5 separate regions of the Homo sapiens genome follow, and all the other regions are linked to region 1. Evidence: promoter capture Hi-C in 16 types of primary human blood cells and fetal thymus (Javierre and others, 2016). All regions are on one chromosome and are shown on one strand. Each heading gives the region's core, a stretch centred on a gene start or on the middle of the fragment in contact. The rest is flanking DNA. Distances are from core to core; before and after follow the strand shown. Region 1 holds the start of RNASE11 (ribonuclease A family member 11 (inactive)). Region 2 overlaps PARP2 (poly(ADP-ribose) polymerase 2). Region 3 overlaps TEP1 (telomerase associated protein 1). Region 4 overlaps TEP1 (telomerase associated protein 1). Region 5 overlaps KLHL33 (kelch like family member 33).

What was found. Contacts are between HindIII fragments. The CHiCAGO score rates a contact against its expected background, and 5 or more counts as called.
Region 2: a contact is called between a fragment that was not itself captured here and the fragment with the promoter of RNASE11 in region 1, in 3 of 17 cell types (naive CD8 T cells, total CD4 T cells and naive B cells). The highest score is 6.5, in naive CD8 T cells.
Region 3: a fragment that was not itself captured here is called in contact with the fragment with the promoter of RNASE11 in region 1 in 3 of 17 cell types (total B cells, erythroblasts and naive CD8 T cells); the score reaches 8.2 in total B cells.
Region 4: a contact is called between a fragment that was not itself captured here and the fragment with the promoter of RNASE11 in region 1, in 4 of 17 cell types (erythroblasts, total B cells, non-activated CD4 T cells and 1 more). The highest score is 8.9, in erythroblasts.
Region 5: a fragment that was not itself captured here is called in contact with the fragment with the promoter of RNASE11 in region 1 in 1 of 17 cell types (erythroblasts); the score reaches 5.9 in erythroblasts.

The regions. Positions count from the first base shown.
Region 1 is chr14:20,586,662-20,589,420 of GRCh38, reverse strand. RNASE11 (ribonuclease A family member 11 (inactive)) reads left to right here and starts at 1,420. Exons shown (of 3, transcript NM_001394190.1): 1 at 1,420-1,561; 2 at 1,796-1,858. RNASE11-AS1 (RNASE11 and RNASE12 antisense RNA 1) reads right to left here and starts at 1,197. Exons shown (of 5, transcript NR_122043.1): 1 at 1,103-1,197. The HindIII fragment of the contact is 10,143 bases long and covers 1-2,759 here.
Region 2 is chr14:20,350,963-20,353,721 of GRCh38, reverse strand. PARP2 (poly(ADP-ribose) polymerase 2) reads right to left here. Exons shown (of 16, transcript NM_001042618.2): 6 at 2,600-2,675; 7 at 1,375-1,477. Among named protein-coding and RNA genes, the nearest start is that of PARP2, 8.7 kb to the right of the region's middle. The HindIII fragment of the contact is 4,027 bases long and covers 1-2,759 here.
Region 3 is chr14:20,380,636-20,383,394 of GRCh38, reverse strand. TEP1 (telomerase associated protein 1) reads left to right here. Exons shown (of 55, transcript NM_007110.5): 27 at 42-221; 28 at 680-772; 29 at 1,039-1,171; 30 at 1,332-1,482; 31 at 1,709-1,842; 32 at 1,994-2,082; 33 at 2,350-2,464. Among named protein-coding and RNA genes, the nearest start is that of TEP1, 31 kb to the left of the region's middle. The HindIII fragment of the contact is 2,872 bases long and covers 1-2,759 here.
Region 4 is chr14:20,396,793-20,399,551 of GRCh38, reverse strand. All of the region lies in intron 9 of TEP1 (telomerase associated protein 1), which reads left to right. Among named protein-coding and RNA genes, the nearest start is that of TEP1, 15 kb to the left of the region's middle. The HindIII fragment of the contact is 1,267 bases long and covers 693-1,959 here.
Region 5 is chr14:20,429,823-20,432,581 of GRCh38, reverse strand. It overlaps KLHL33 (kelch like family member 33), which reads left to right. Exons shown (of 5, transcript NM_001365790.2): 3 at 1,863-2,759. Among named protein-coding and RNA genes, the nearest start is that of KLHL33, 5.0 kb to the left of the region's middle. The HindIII fragment of the contact is 2,721 bases long and covers 76-2,759 here.

The sequences.
Region 1 (2,759 bases), core at 171-2,670:
TTAGCCGGGCGTGGTGGCGGGCGCCTATAGTCCCAGCTACTCCGGAGGCTGAGGCAAGAGAATGGCGTGAACCCAGGAGGCGGAGTTGCAGTGAGCCGAGATCGCGCCACTGCACTCCAGCCGGGGCGGCAGAGTGAGACTCCGTCTCAAAAAAAAAAAAAAAGAAATCTTGGATGCTCAAAATATCTATCACAAAATTTTGAAGATCCAATCTGACAAGGCTAGGATCAGGGTAAGATGAGTTATGTGAGAAACGTAGTGCAGGGCCAGATCCTGGTATTTAAAATTTTAACATTTGTTCATCAGGGATTATTTTGCATTAAATTTATTTTCTGGCCAGGCGTGGTGGCTCATGCCTGTAATCCCAGCACTTTGGGAGGCTGAGGCAGGTGGAACACTTGAGGTCAGGAGTTTGAGATCAGCCTGGCCAACATGGTGAAACCTCCTCTCCACTAAAAATACAAAAGTTAGTTGGGTGTGGTGGTGCACGCCTGTAATCCCAGCTGCTTGGGAAGCTGACACAGGAGGAGCGCTTGAACCTGGGAGGTGGAGGTTGCAGTGAGCCGAGATCATGCCATTGCACTCCAGCCTGGGCAACAGAGCAAGACTCTGTCTCAAAAATAAATAAATAAATATTTTCTAAAATTGTTGCATTAAAATATTATTTATCTTGATTATTGAGTTTTGTGGCACTCTCTTAAATTTTGGTCTTAGAGTGAGTGTCTCATTAACCTCAGCCTAATCCTAGCTCTGCTTCTAGCTGTAGAAGCAACAGAGGTCACCTCTTAGGGTCTTTTTTAAAGATAGCATATACAACTCAGGCAGCATCTGTTCCTGTTCAGCAGCTCCCTTTGTGTCTTGAAATAAAGAAAGGAGCCTGACTGGTCTGAAACCATTTCCCTTAAAGACTTTAGAGAGACACAGATAAGGATTTCCCAGGGAGGGATTGAGACTTTCAGAGCTCAGTGACCTCCTCTTTGTGTCTCCAGAAGGAACAGAGAGGACTTTGAGCCGGACTACTAACTCTTTTCTCTTTTTAGTTCTTACAATTGGACTTACTGCTTAGTTTCCCCACATTCAGCTATGGGCATAGTATCCTTACAGCTAGAAGGAGAAGGACGAGAAAGAGAGATTTCTAATTCTGGGGATTTCATGAAGTCCTCTTCTTCTCTATTCATTAGTTTCCTTGTCTGTAAAGTGAGGATCTTGAATTAGATAATCTTTCAAGTTCTTTCCAAGTCTATTAGTCTATAATTCTATTTCTTAAGTAGTACAGAAAATGGCTATATTATAGCCATTGTTGGAGGGGAGAATTTGTATTGTGAGGTAGTAAGAAATAAGGGGCAATTGGCAAATAAAGGCCAGATTATGTTGTCACTAATTCTGAGCTATGGCATTTCAATCCTGTATGTGAGAGCTAGAGACTCATACAGTGACCTAGAGCAGGCATGGGTGGGTCACAGGCTTTGGAGAGCACTCTCTGTCCTGATCTTTTCAGTTGAGAGACTTCAGCTGTTCATTGCTCATTTGGACTTAGTTCAAGGTCATGTCAAAGAAGAAGGTGCACTTACGCTAGTTGTTAGCTCTGTCTTTTGTAACCATCAAGTTCCATGCGATTGATCAGATTTAGGAGGGGGCGTTGGGGGATAATCGTAAGTGAAGGACAGTTTGCAACCTTGTGAGTAGGCAACGCTTACTCATCTCATGGCTTCTTCCATCTTAGGTGGCCGTTTTTCAGCTGAGTTTCATTTTCTAGTTCTCTGTGGTAATTCTGTTGTCATTGTTGTCTCCATAGAATTTTGGGTGTCACCAGGTAAACAGAGCCCTCAGCATCTGAATAGAAACTGAACAGGAACAGGTAGGTGGTCCCTAGCACATGATTTGTTGGGCCTTGGTAGCATCATTTTTTGGGCAAAACTTTGAAGTGGATGAAATGCATCCTTTAGGTTCCTACATCTATTTTCTGAATTCTGATTCCTTTTTCTATCCCTCTCCCTAGGTTTTGTTGTCTTTTCTTTCCTTTTCAGTGCTTTTTCTCCCCTTCTTCACCGAAGCTCCTCCTTTCTAATTAAAAATATCTTGCAGATAAAAGTATAACTGAGATGAACCAATAGGATGTATCCTCAGAGTAATTTCATTCAATAGGGATCAACACCAAATTCAAATGAATTGTGACATTTTAGACATTCGTAGTTTGGGTGTGTGTGTATCTATATCTATCTATCTGTATCTAAATATGTATATACATATATATTATACAGATATATAGGATCAGAGTCTCATTCTGTTGCCCAGGATGGAGTGCAGTTGTGTGATCACAGCTCACTGCAGTCTCAGACTTTTGGGCTCAAGAAATCCTCTCCTCTCAGCCTCCCGAGTGGCTGGGACTATAGGCATATGCCACCACAACTGGCTTTTTGTTGTTGTTGTTGTTGTAGAGATGGATTCTCACTATGTTGCCTAGGCTGGTCTTGAACTTCTGGCCTCAAGTGATCCTCCCGCATTGGCCTCCCAAAGCAATGAGACCACAGGCATGAGTGACTGTGCCCAGCCAGGTATATTTTTTTAAAGGGCACCTCTTAGCAGTTTCAAATAAAACCTAGGCAGCTGTGAATGCTGCCCACTTGAAATATATGTCTCAGAAAGACTGGAAATTTCTGCCCTGCTCTTCTTCCTGTTTATCTTTCTCCTCCTGGTCTTTCTGTTTCCCTATTGTCACCTCACTACTGATGTCAATGGTATAGGATATAGAAGTTTAG
Region 2 (2,759 bases), core at 156-2,655, 240 kb after region 1:
TTTTTTTGGATATGTGACTGTTTCCGGACAGTTTCAGCATCCTGGTATACCTCAGTTTATCTAAATTAAATTTTTTATGGTGGTATATATCCAGAAGTGAAAACAAATTTAAATGTTAATTGTTTAATCAGTTTGATTTTTTATCACTCCTCTCTTGGTCCATAACAATAAACTTCTGGTGCCAGCCGCAGTGGCTCACGCTTGTAATCCCAGCACTTTGGGAGGCCAAGACGGGCGGATCATGATGTCAGGAGATCGAGACCATCCTGGCTAACATGGTGAAACCCCGTCTCTACTAAAAATACAAAAAAAAATTAGCCGGGCGTGGTGGCGGGCGCCTGTAGTCCCAGCTACTCCGGAGGCTGAGGCAGGAGAATGGCGTGAACCCAGAGGCGGAGCGTGCAGTGAGCCGAGATCGCGCCACTGCACTCCAGCCTGGGCGACAGAGCGAGACTCCGTATCAAAAAAAAACAAAAACAAAAAAACGAAAAAAACAATAAACGTCTGGAAATAGGGCCTAAGATTTTATAAGAAACTTAGTAGGCCGGGCGTGATGGCTCACGCCTGTAATCCCAGCACTTTGGGAAGCTGAGGCGGGTAGATCACCCAAGGTCACGAGTTCAAGACCAGACTGGCCAACATGATGAAACCCTGTCTCTACTAAAAATACAAAAAAAATTAGCTGGGCATAGTGGCGGGCACCTGTAATCCCAGCTACCTGAGAGGCTGAGGCAGAAGAATCGCTTGAACCCGGGAGCTGGAGGTTGCAGCGAGCTGAGACTGAGCCATTGCACTCCAACCTGGGCAACAAGAATCAAACTCCAGCTCAAAAAAAAAAAAAAGAACCTTAGTAAATAACAGAGCCAAGACTAGAAAGGCACATTCTATCCTCATTCTTACTGTCCCTTTGGGATTACAAAGATCAGTGAGAGCACCCCTGAGGTGAGAAGTAGAAAGGATTCAAGATATCCTGGCCTGTCCCAGTCCAGGAATGATCTAAGCTATTCTGCTTTACCCTGAGTAAGAAGAAACAGGAGTAGGTGTGGTGCCTCATGCTTGTAATCTCAGGACTTTGGGAGGCCAAGACAAGAGGACTGCTTGAGCCCAGGAATTCGAGACCAGCCTGGGCAACATAGTGAAACCTCATCTTTACAAAAAAAAAAGAAAAAAAATCAGCTGGGCAGAGTGGCACGTGCCTGTAGTTCCTGATACTGAGGAGGCTGAGGTGGGAGGATCACTTGAGCCTGAGGATCTTGAGGCTGCAGTGAGCCATGATTGTGCCACCCAGCCTGGGCAACAGAGCACAGTTTTGCCTCTAAAAAATAAAATAAAAAAAGAAGATGTGTTTCTTTCGAAAAGTATAGTGAGAGTTACCTGAGTATTGGTGGCATAGTCCATCTGTAGCATATCATATTTTCCAGGCACCTTCTCAAACTTTTCTCGATCTTCCCAATTGTTTTTCGTTTTGTCAAGGAATCTGTAGAGTCCAAGGTGTAAGAAAACTTTACAAATAAAGGTCTACTATGAAGATGGACTTACAAGACAGAAAATCTCCAAAGAATTTATTTTCCAGCACTGAGCTCCTTTACACATCAACTTTCCATAAATCAAAATTAGTCTAATTCTAAATGAGGACACTAAATGGACAAAAAAGCTCTGGAGACAAATGGAATTTAAAAAATGGGAAAAACAATGCTTGTCCTTCCCAAACACCACAAAAGCCATTGAGATTTCAAACAAAAGATATCCATCTAATCTCTTTCCCTGAAAGAAACATGTTCTCCAATTCTCCAGAAAGTTCTTCATCTATATCATAAAGTTTTAAAAATTCTAACTGAATATTCTCTTTTTTTCTTTCCTTTTTTTTGGGGGAGAGTCAGGGGTCTCGCTTTGTTGCCCAGGCTGGTCTCAAACTCCTAGCTTCAAGCAATCCTCCTGCCTCAACCTCCCAAAGTGCTGGGATTACAGGCATCACCGTGCTCAGCCCCTAGTTGAATATTATCTATCCCAGGATAGTCTCCACTTATCCCAAATTTCCTAAATTTGTCAGTCATGTGTTAAATATATTAGATTCTTCTGTTTTTAGTGACTTTCAAGGTATTAGTTTGATTTAATCACTAAGGATGCAGTTTGGTGTTTCAACCACAGAATGTCAGGGTGAAAAGACATTAACATTTAGGCCAAATCACACCTATAAAACGAAAAGTTTTTTATAAGCCACACACTTATAAAATTCTTAGAGAAGGCAGGGCACGGTGGCTCACGCCTGTAATCCCGCACTTTGGGAGGCTGAGGCAGGCGGATCACCTGAGGTCAGGGGTTCGAGACCAGCCTGGCCAACATGGCGAAACCCCATCTCTATTAAAAATACAAAAATTAGCTGGGCGTGGTGGTGGGCGCCTGTAATCCCAGCTACTAGGGAGGCTGAGGCAGGAGAATCACTTAAACCCAGGAGGTGGAGGTTGCAGTGAGCTCAGATCATGCCATTGCACTCCAGCCTGGGCAACAAGAGTGAAACTGTCTAAAAAAAAATTTTTTAGAGAATATACATCTAAGAAGAGGAGGGTATATTTTTTTGTAGTCACTTTTCAGCACTCACTTCTTCTGAAAGATTTCCTTGGCCTTGTTGAGATTGCCTGAACAAGCCACCAGGCTGTGCTGTCCCATTTTCCCAACTGCAAAGGAAATGCCACACATAAGATAGTTCCCTAAGAGTAACAGGCCAGCTCTCCAAGATCTCTCTGCTTAACATCTGACAA
Region 3 (2,759 bases), core at 87-2,586, 210 kb after region 1:
TTTTCTTTCTACCTTCCTGCCCCTTTGCCCAAATATCACAGTGTGTACACCTGGTGCTGAGTGTGTCTAGTGATGCAGGCCTAGGGGAGACCCTTGAGCAGAGCCAGGGTGCCCACGTGCTGGCCTTGGGGCCTCTGGAGGCCTCTGCTCGGGCCCGGCTGGTGAGAGAGGAGCTGGCCCTGTACGGGAAGCGGCTGGAGGAGTCACCATTTAACAACCAGGTTGGGTTCTAGGCCGGGGCCGGTGGGTGTGTGGGGTGAATCTGGGAGCTATGAGGACCTGGGGTGCCGAGGCCGCTAGCTGCCTTGCACAGACCTGCTCCTTTGTTTTCTCAGAAATTCTGTCCATGGGAAGTTGTTAATAAGAAAATTGTGATTCCTGATCATGTCACCCAGCCCTCTTCCCCCGGTGAATGGCCTTTCCAGGGCCTCTCGGGGTGAGGGGATGAGTCAAGTGGTTTTTGGTGGGGTAGGCCGAGCCACAGGGGTTTTCTGGCAGGGCTGGCTGGGCAGAGCAGCGTAGGAGAGGGATGGTTTGTGTCCTGGGATGATGCCATGGACCTGGCGTCTGCTGGGGACTCTCAGAGGAGGAGCTGCCTGGCAGAGGGGCTGGTGCTGGGGCAGAGGGCTGGCTGCGGGCAGCCCTCCTGGACCCCACCCTGAGTCCTGAGTCTTGCCAGATGCGACTGCTGCTGGTGAAGCGGGAATCAGGCCGGCCGCTCTACCTGCGCTTGGTCACCGATCACCTGAGGCTCTTCACGCTGTATGAGCAGGTCAGTTCTCATCACCTTCCAAGTCCTAATCACTACTTCCCATTCTCTCTTCAGCTGCTTTGTCTCATCCCTATCCCACGTCCTTTGCTGTCTTGTGATCACCCACTCCCTATCCTCGCCTCATACCTCGCCTCACTTCCCTCCTACTGTTGTTCTTTACTTTTTCATTCCTCCACACTGTCCTCCTGCTGCCCCTTCCCTATCCCACAAGCCAAGCTGCTTCTCCTCCCACTGCACTGAACAAGGCTGTCCTCCCGCCATCCTAGGTGTCTGAGAGACTCCGGACCCTGCCTGCCACTGTCCCCCTGCTGCTGCAGCACATCCTGAGCACACTGGAGAAGGAGCACGGGCCTGATGTCCTTCCCCAGGCCTTGACTGCCCTAGAAGTCACACGGAGTGGTCAGTGCTTGGGGTGGGTTGGTTGGGAGGCTGAGGGCCAGGGTTCGGATTACATTGGTTCCCTTGGGGTCTCAGCAGGCAGTTCAAGGAGAGACTGGGTGTGGTGGGGGCGGGGACACCGTATGGTTAGATGAGGGCCTCAGAGAGCTTGAGTTTTCAGGTTTGACTGTGGACCAGCTGCACGGAGTGCTGAGTGTGTGGCGGACACTACCGAAGGGGACTAAGAGCTGGGAAGAAGCAGTGGCTGCTGGTAACAGTGGAGACCCCTACCCCATGGGCCCGTTTGCCTGCCTCGTCCAGAGTCTGCGCAGGTACAGGTGCCCCAGCAGAGCTCCCGCTGACCTCTCTGTGCCTTCCCTTCTTTGAGCCGGGGCCCTCTGTATAGCTTCAACAACTGGCTCCCAGACCATGAATGAGCTACTGCTCCAGCTGCTCCAGTTTCCGCTATTTGAGGGGGGAATAGGAGCCCACTGTGTGCCAGGAAGCTCACTGACAGGCCTCTTCCTTCTTCTCTCTCCCTTCCTCACACGAGGACAGTTTGCTAGGGGAGGGCCCTCTGGAGCGCCCTGGTGCCCGGCTGTGCCTCCCTGATGGGCCCCTGAGAACAGCAGCTAAACGTTGCTATGGGAAGAGGCCAGGGCTAGAGGACACGGCACACATCCTCATTGCAGGTGATTGCAGCCCAAGTCAGCCTGGGCACTGAGTGTGGGGCTTGGGCCTGGAGGCCAGGACCACCCACTGTGCTCCCATCTGCTGGCCAGCTCACCTACTGCCCTTGGGAATGATGCAGGGCTGAGCCTTTCTCAATATCTGTTCATGCAGCTCAGCTCTGGAAGACATGTGACGCTGATGCCTCAGGCACCTTCCGAAGTTGCCCTCCTGAGGCTCTGGGAGACCTGCCTTACCACCTGGTTAGTTCCTAGACCCCATAGACACCTTTCCCAAAGTGAGTGCTTTGGTTGCTCTGAGACCCCTCTCCCCGTTACCATCTCCACCATCACCGCCGCCATTACCCCTCCCAAACTCCCTTGACCTCTTTCCTTTCAGTTTTCCTGCCCTTCTTCTTCAAGTCCTTTGTCCCAGCTCAGATCCTATCTCTGTATCCAGGTTCTGAGACTAAACTGTCCCTTCTCACCAGCCCCTTCATATCCCTAATGAATTCAATCTGACCTTCTCAGCTCCAGAGCGGGAACCGTGGACTTCTTTCGAAGTTCCTTACCAACCTCCATGTGGTGGCTGCACACTTGGAATTGGGTCTGGTCTCTCGGCTCTTGGAGGCCCATGCCCTCTATGGTGAGATGAGTCACTGGCTGGGTTCTTCTCTGAGATATGGGACTCCTGGGTGTGCTTATGGGGGCCCTGCTCAGGGTTGGGGCAGGGGTGTGGGTGTCAGGGAAAAAAGATTCAAATTTCCATTTCGAGTTGAAAATGCCAAGAGGGTGAGCACGTGACTCTCAGGAGACCTTTCACCTTGATCTCTTGGACCAGAGATTCTTCAACTTTATTTAGTTAGCATAAAACTATCTAGGAAACTTGTTCAAATTGCAGATCCTTGGGTCTCCATATTCTGGTTTCCTAGGTTTGGAGT
Region 4 (2,759 bases), core at 77-2,576, 190 kb after region 1:
AATAAATATAAATAAATAAAAGGAAATATAAAAAAAGATATAAGTATAAAATATAAGATAAAATGTAATTGGATATACAGAACCCTTTTTGAAGACCACAGATCTCATTAATAACTCATTAACATTTTTTTGGAATGAAATTAGTGAATTTTGCAATCTTAAGGATAAATGTCCAGTTTATTTTCTAATATCACCAGTATGATATTGGACTTAATTTCTTACCGAAAATGATCTAGAAAACCTTTTATACATAGTAACAGTGGAAAAAACTTGAGTCGACAATGGATGCAATAGTTCATTTATAGTACATATACAACCTAATTGTTCCATACAGTTTGTGAATCAGAATTATGACTGGAGGCCAGGCACCATGGCTCACGCCTGTAATCCCAGCACTTTGGGAGGCTGGGGCGGGCAAATCACTTGAGCTCAGGAGTTTGAGACCAGCCTGAGCAACATGGTGAAACCCCGTCTCTAACCAAAAATAGAAAAATTAGCTGGGCATGGTGGTTGATGTCTGTGGTCCCAGCTGCTTGGGAGGTTGAGGCAGGAGGATTGCTTGAGCCTGGAAAGTGGAGGTTGCAGCGAGCCAAGATTGTGCCACTGAGTGACAGAGACAGACTCCATCTCAAAAATAAAAAAAAAAAGAATGATGACTGGAGAATCCCAAGACTTCCAGAGGGCTGAAAGCTTCCAGCTATAATTCAAATAAGACTTACATCCCCTTTACAAAGGGAGCAGCATTTACCTGATGAAGCTGCTGATGGTGTGGGCTGGTGCACAAGGCATGGTGACGGACTGACCGGCCTGGCCTCTAAAGTGGTTTGAATGCACCTCTGTCCAGGAAAAGAAAATCACACCTCCTATTTATGTTTACTTTTATCTAAAAGAAAAGAATTTTCCCAGTACTTACCATGCAGATTGAACCCACATAGTCACTGAATCCATATGATACAGTGTTATGTGTTACGTGTAATAGTTGAGGTTTTCTGAGCATCCACAATCTGAGGGCATTAATGTCACCCCTTCACTCTTTTTTTTTTTTAATTTTGGTTTCTATATAATTTGACTTATAGCAATTTATCTTTCAATTGTAGATGGATTTGGAATTATATTATTCAGTATTAACCAAATTAACTGTCTAAAATTGATATAAACCTTTTTTTTTTTTTTTTGGGCGGAGTCTCACTTTGATGCCCAGGCTGGAGTGCAATGGCGCGACCTCGGCTCACTTCAACCTCCGCCTCCCAGGTTCAAGTGATTCTCCTGCTTCAGCCTCCTGATTAGCTGAGATTACAGGCGACCACCACCACGCCCGGCTAATTTTTGTATTTTTAGTAGAGATGGGGTTTCACCGTGTTAGCGAGGATGGTCTTGATCTCCTGACCTCATGATCCGCCTGAGTCGGCCTTCCAAAGTGCTGGGATTACAGGCGTGAGCCACTGCACCCGGCCTAAAATTGATATAAACCTTAAAAATATTATTATTAAGAAACTATGGGCTGGGCATGGTGGCTCACGCCTGTAATCCCAGCAATTTGGGAGGCCGAGGCAGGCAGATCACTGTAGATCGGGAGTTTGAGACCAGCCTGGCCAACATGGTGAAACCCCGTCTCTACTAAAAATACAAAAATTAGCCAGGCATGGTGGTGAGCACTTGTAATCCCAGCTACTCGGAGGCTGAGGCAGGAGAATTGCTTGAATCCAGGAATCAGAGGTTGCAGTGAGCTGAGATTGCACCACCACACTCTAGCCTGGGTGACAGAGTGAGACTCCGTCTCAAAAAAAAAAGAAAAGAAACTATGGCTTGAAGATAATATTAATAACACAGGTACAAGGGAACAATAAGGAAGTGACAGAGGTCAGTGGTGAAATTCTATCTCCAGTGCAAATCTTTTTCACCTATATTTAAGCAAAAAAAGTAATGACTAATCAAATAGAAGAAATTGGGTGAGAAGCTTACAAATTATGAAGACTATTTCAAATATGGATTTACATACATTCGTCATTATAAATGGTGAACTTTTTTTTAATTTTTTTTTTGGAGACAGAGTCTTGCTTTGTCACCCAGGCTGCAGTGCAGTGGCGTGATCTCGGTTCACTGCAACCTTCGCATTTTGGTTTCAAGCGATTCTCCTGACTCAGCCTTTCGAGTGGCTGGGATTAGAGGCACCAGACACCACGCCTGGCTAATTTTTGTATTTTTGTAGAGACGGGGTTTCATAAATGGTGAACCTTCTTTTAAATGGATATTGTGCCTTGAAATATTAACTAATGAATGTGCTACATTATGTTAGTATATACTTCATAAATCAACTTACACTACGAAATTTCTCTTTTGGCCATCTAAAAAGTTTAGAAACCTTTGCTCTAGACTAGATAATACATTTTGCCAGTTGAACCCAATCTTAGGGCTAGAGCCAACAGATTAAGTGGTAACATAACAGCCATCCCATAAACAGTGTTGCATAAATTTTGTTCCAAACTTTGGGCCAACCCTGTTTTTAATCTTTCCAAGCCTTTAAAACATTTTGAGTAGGGTAGATTGTATGTGAATTCCTCACTTCCTCTATCTTGGACTTTCCACATGCCTGGTTTCTGAACTTCTTGCTCTGGTCTCTGACCTCTCTCTAATCATCCCTCATTTGCTTTTTTTTTTTGAGACAGTCTTGCTATGTTGCCCAGGCTGGACTCTAATTCCTGGGTTCTGGGCTCAAGTGATCCTTCTGTCTCAGCCTCCTTGGTAGCTGAGATTATAGG
Region 5 (2,759 bases), core at 187-2,686, 160 kb after region 1:
TTTTTTAAAGTGAGTTTGTTCAACCCAGGAATTAATCAAGGACTATGCTATTCTCAGTTGCATGTCTCTTAAGCTTCCTTTAATCTAGTACAGTCCTTCCTCCTTTTTTTTTTTTATTACTTTATATATTGATTGGTAAAGACAATAACATGTAAGATTGGTTACCCTGGGCCAGGCATAGTGGCTCACGCCTGTAATCCCAACACTTTGGGAGGCCGAGGCAGGCAGATCACTTGAGGCCAGGAGTTCAAGGTTAGCCTGTCCAACATGGCGAAACCGTCTCTACTAAAAATACAAAAATTAGCCAGGCATGGTAGCGTGCACCTGTAGTCCCAGCTAATCTGGAAGCTGAGGCACGAGAATCACATGAAGCTGGAGGGTGGAGGTTGCAGTGAGCCGAGATTGTACCACTGCACTCCAGGCAGGGTGACAGAGTAAGACCCTATCTCAAAAAAAAAAAAATTGGTTATCCTATAAAATGCTCCATTTTCTTGATTTGTGTGGTTTTTCCCCTCTAAATTGTTCCTTTAGCCTTTCAACTTCCTATAAACTTGACTTTAGATCTAAAGAGTTGAACAGATTCAAGTTAAATATTTTGGCCAGAATAATCCATAAGTGATGCTGAGTATGAGGTCTAATTGTTTAACAGCGTAGGTTAATAGGACAGTTTCATTGTCATGAGGACCATGCAGATAACCAAGGTATTGGTACACAAGCATGCTTATTGCAGCCTGACATCAGTGGCAGTGGATGGAGATGATCTGCCCACACAGCCACTGCATGGAAATGAAAAATAAATCACATGCTTTCTTTGGGACCCAACTCAGTTTCCACATTTTATTTATTTATTTATTTTGAGATGGAGTCTCGCTCTGTCACCCAGGCTGGGTGCAGCGGCGCAGTCTCAGCTCATTGCAACCCTCGCCTCCCAGGTTCAAGCTATTCTCCTGCCTCAGTCTCCAAGTAGCTGGGATTACAGGCGCCTGCCACCATGCCCGGCTAATGTTTGTATTTTTGGTAGAGATGGAGTTTCACCATGTTGGCCAGGCTGGCCTTGAACTCCTGACCTCAAGTGATCCTACCCACCTCAGCCTCCCAAAGTGCTGGGATTACAGGTGTGTGCCACGACACCCAACCAGTTTCCTTATTTTAAAGGGAATAATTGAATTAGATTATTTTGAAGTTCTCAAGTTTCAGATCTCATGATTCTACAAATTACACCAAGAACAGGAGAGGGTTATGCAGAGAAAAGCTGGGACGCACGGAAAACATTAAACACTAAATCTTAGGCAAGAGGAGACAGCAATCCGATGAGGTTGGATTACAGCCATTCCCGAGTGGTGCCACTTTCCCAGCAAAATCTAACAGAATGGCTGACAGTCTTGGCTCTTGATTGTAAAGAATTTTATTTTGTCACGATATAGACAGACCTATATAAGTTGCTTGTTGGTCATTTCCCATTTATTTTGTGCTCCTCTTAGCAAATGCTTTCCTCTCAACCTGATCCATGAAGACTCTTTTTCTGACTCATCTGACCAAAAAGACTAAAGCAATGTTTATCTAAGTGTCTTCAGGCCACTAACATGAGAATCACATAGGGTTACTTGAAGTGTTACAATACAAATTTCTAGGGTCTCCGTCCAGAACTGCTGAATCAGAATCTCTGGGAGTGGACTGCTGAAACCTGCATTTTAACAACTACCCCATGGTATTCTGATGCACACCACAGTTTGGTCTGTAGCAGTGGGTGGCTTGGAGGGCCAAACTTAGAGTTTGGCCAAACTTAGAGTACCAAGTTGGGGTAATGCCTATCGGTCTTGCAATACTTTGAGTCCTCCTCTATTCCTTCTCCCCTCCTGCAGTGCACCGAGCCGCCCTGGCCTGTGGCAGTGAGTTCTTTGGGGCCATGCTCCTGAGCGGGATGAGGGAATCCCAGGGCACAGAGGTATCTCTGCGGACGATCTCCACCCAGGACCTGCGACTCCTCGTCTCTTTTGCTTACTCCGGAGTTGTGCGGGCAAGGTGGCCAGGGCTACTGAGAGCTGCCCAGGCTGCTCTGCAGTACCAGAGCTCTTCCTGCTTGGATTTGTGTCAGAAAGGCTTGGCACGGGGCCTCAGCCCTGCCCGTTGCCTGGCCCTGTTCCCCATGGCGGAAGCCCCTGGGTTGGAGAGGCTCTGGAGCAAAGCCCGTCACTACCTCCTCACCCACCTGCCTGCTGTAGCCTTGTGTCCTGCTTTCCCTTCTTTACCAGCTGCCTGCTTGGCTGAGCTCCTGGATAGTGATGAGCTCCATGTGCAGGAGGAGTTTGAGGCCTTTGTGGCTGCACGGTGTTGGCTGGCTGCCAACCCCGAGACCCAGGAGTCAGAGGCCAAGGCCCTGCTGCGATGTGTCCGCTTTGGCCGCATGTCCACCAGGGAGTTGCGGAGGGTGCGGGCAGCCGGGCTACTTCCACCCCTGACCCCAGATCTGTTGCACCAGCTGATGGTAGAGGCTGATGTTCCAGGCCAAGAGAGACGGAGGGAGCCTGACCGGGCACTGGTAGTGATTGGCGGGGATGGGCTCAGACCAGACATGGCCCTAAGACAACCATCCCGAGCAGTGTGGTGGGCCCGGGCCTTCCGCTGTGGCGTGGGACTGGTACGAACTGTTGAGTGGGGGCAGCTGCCTGCCCTGCCTGCCCCCGGACGCTTCCGGCATGGGGCTGCAAGCCTGGCAGGAAGTGAACTCTATGTGTGTGGGGGACAAGATTTCTACAGTC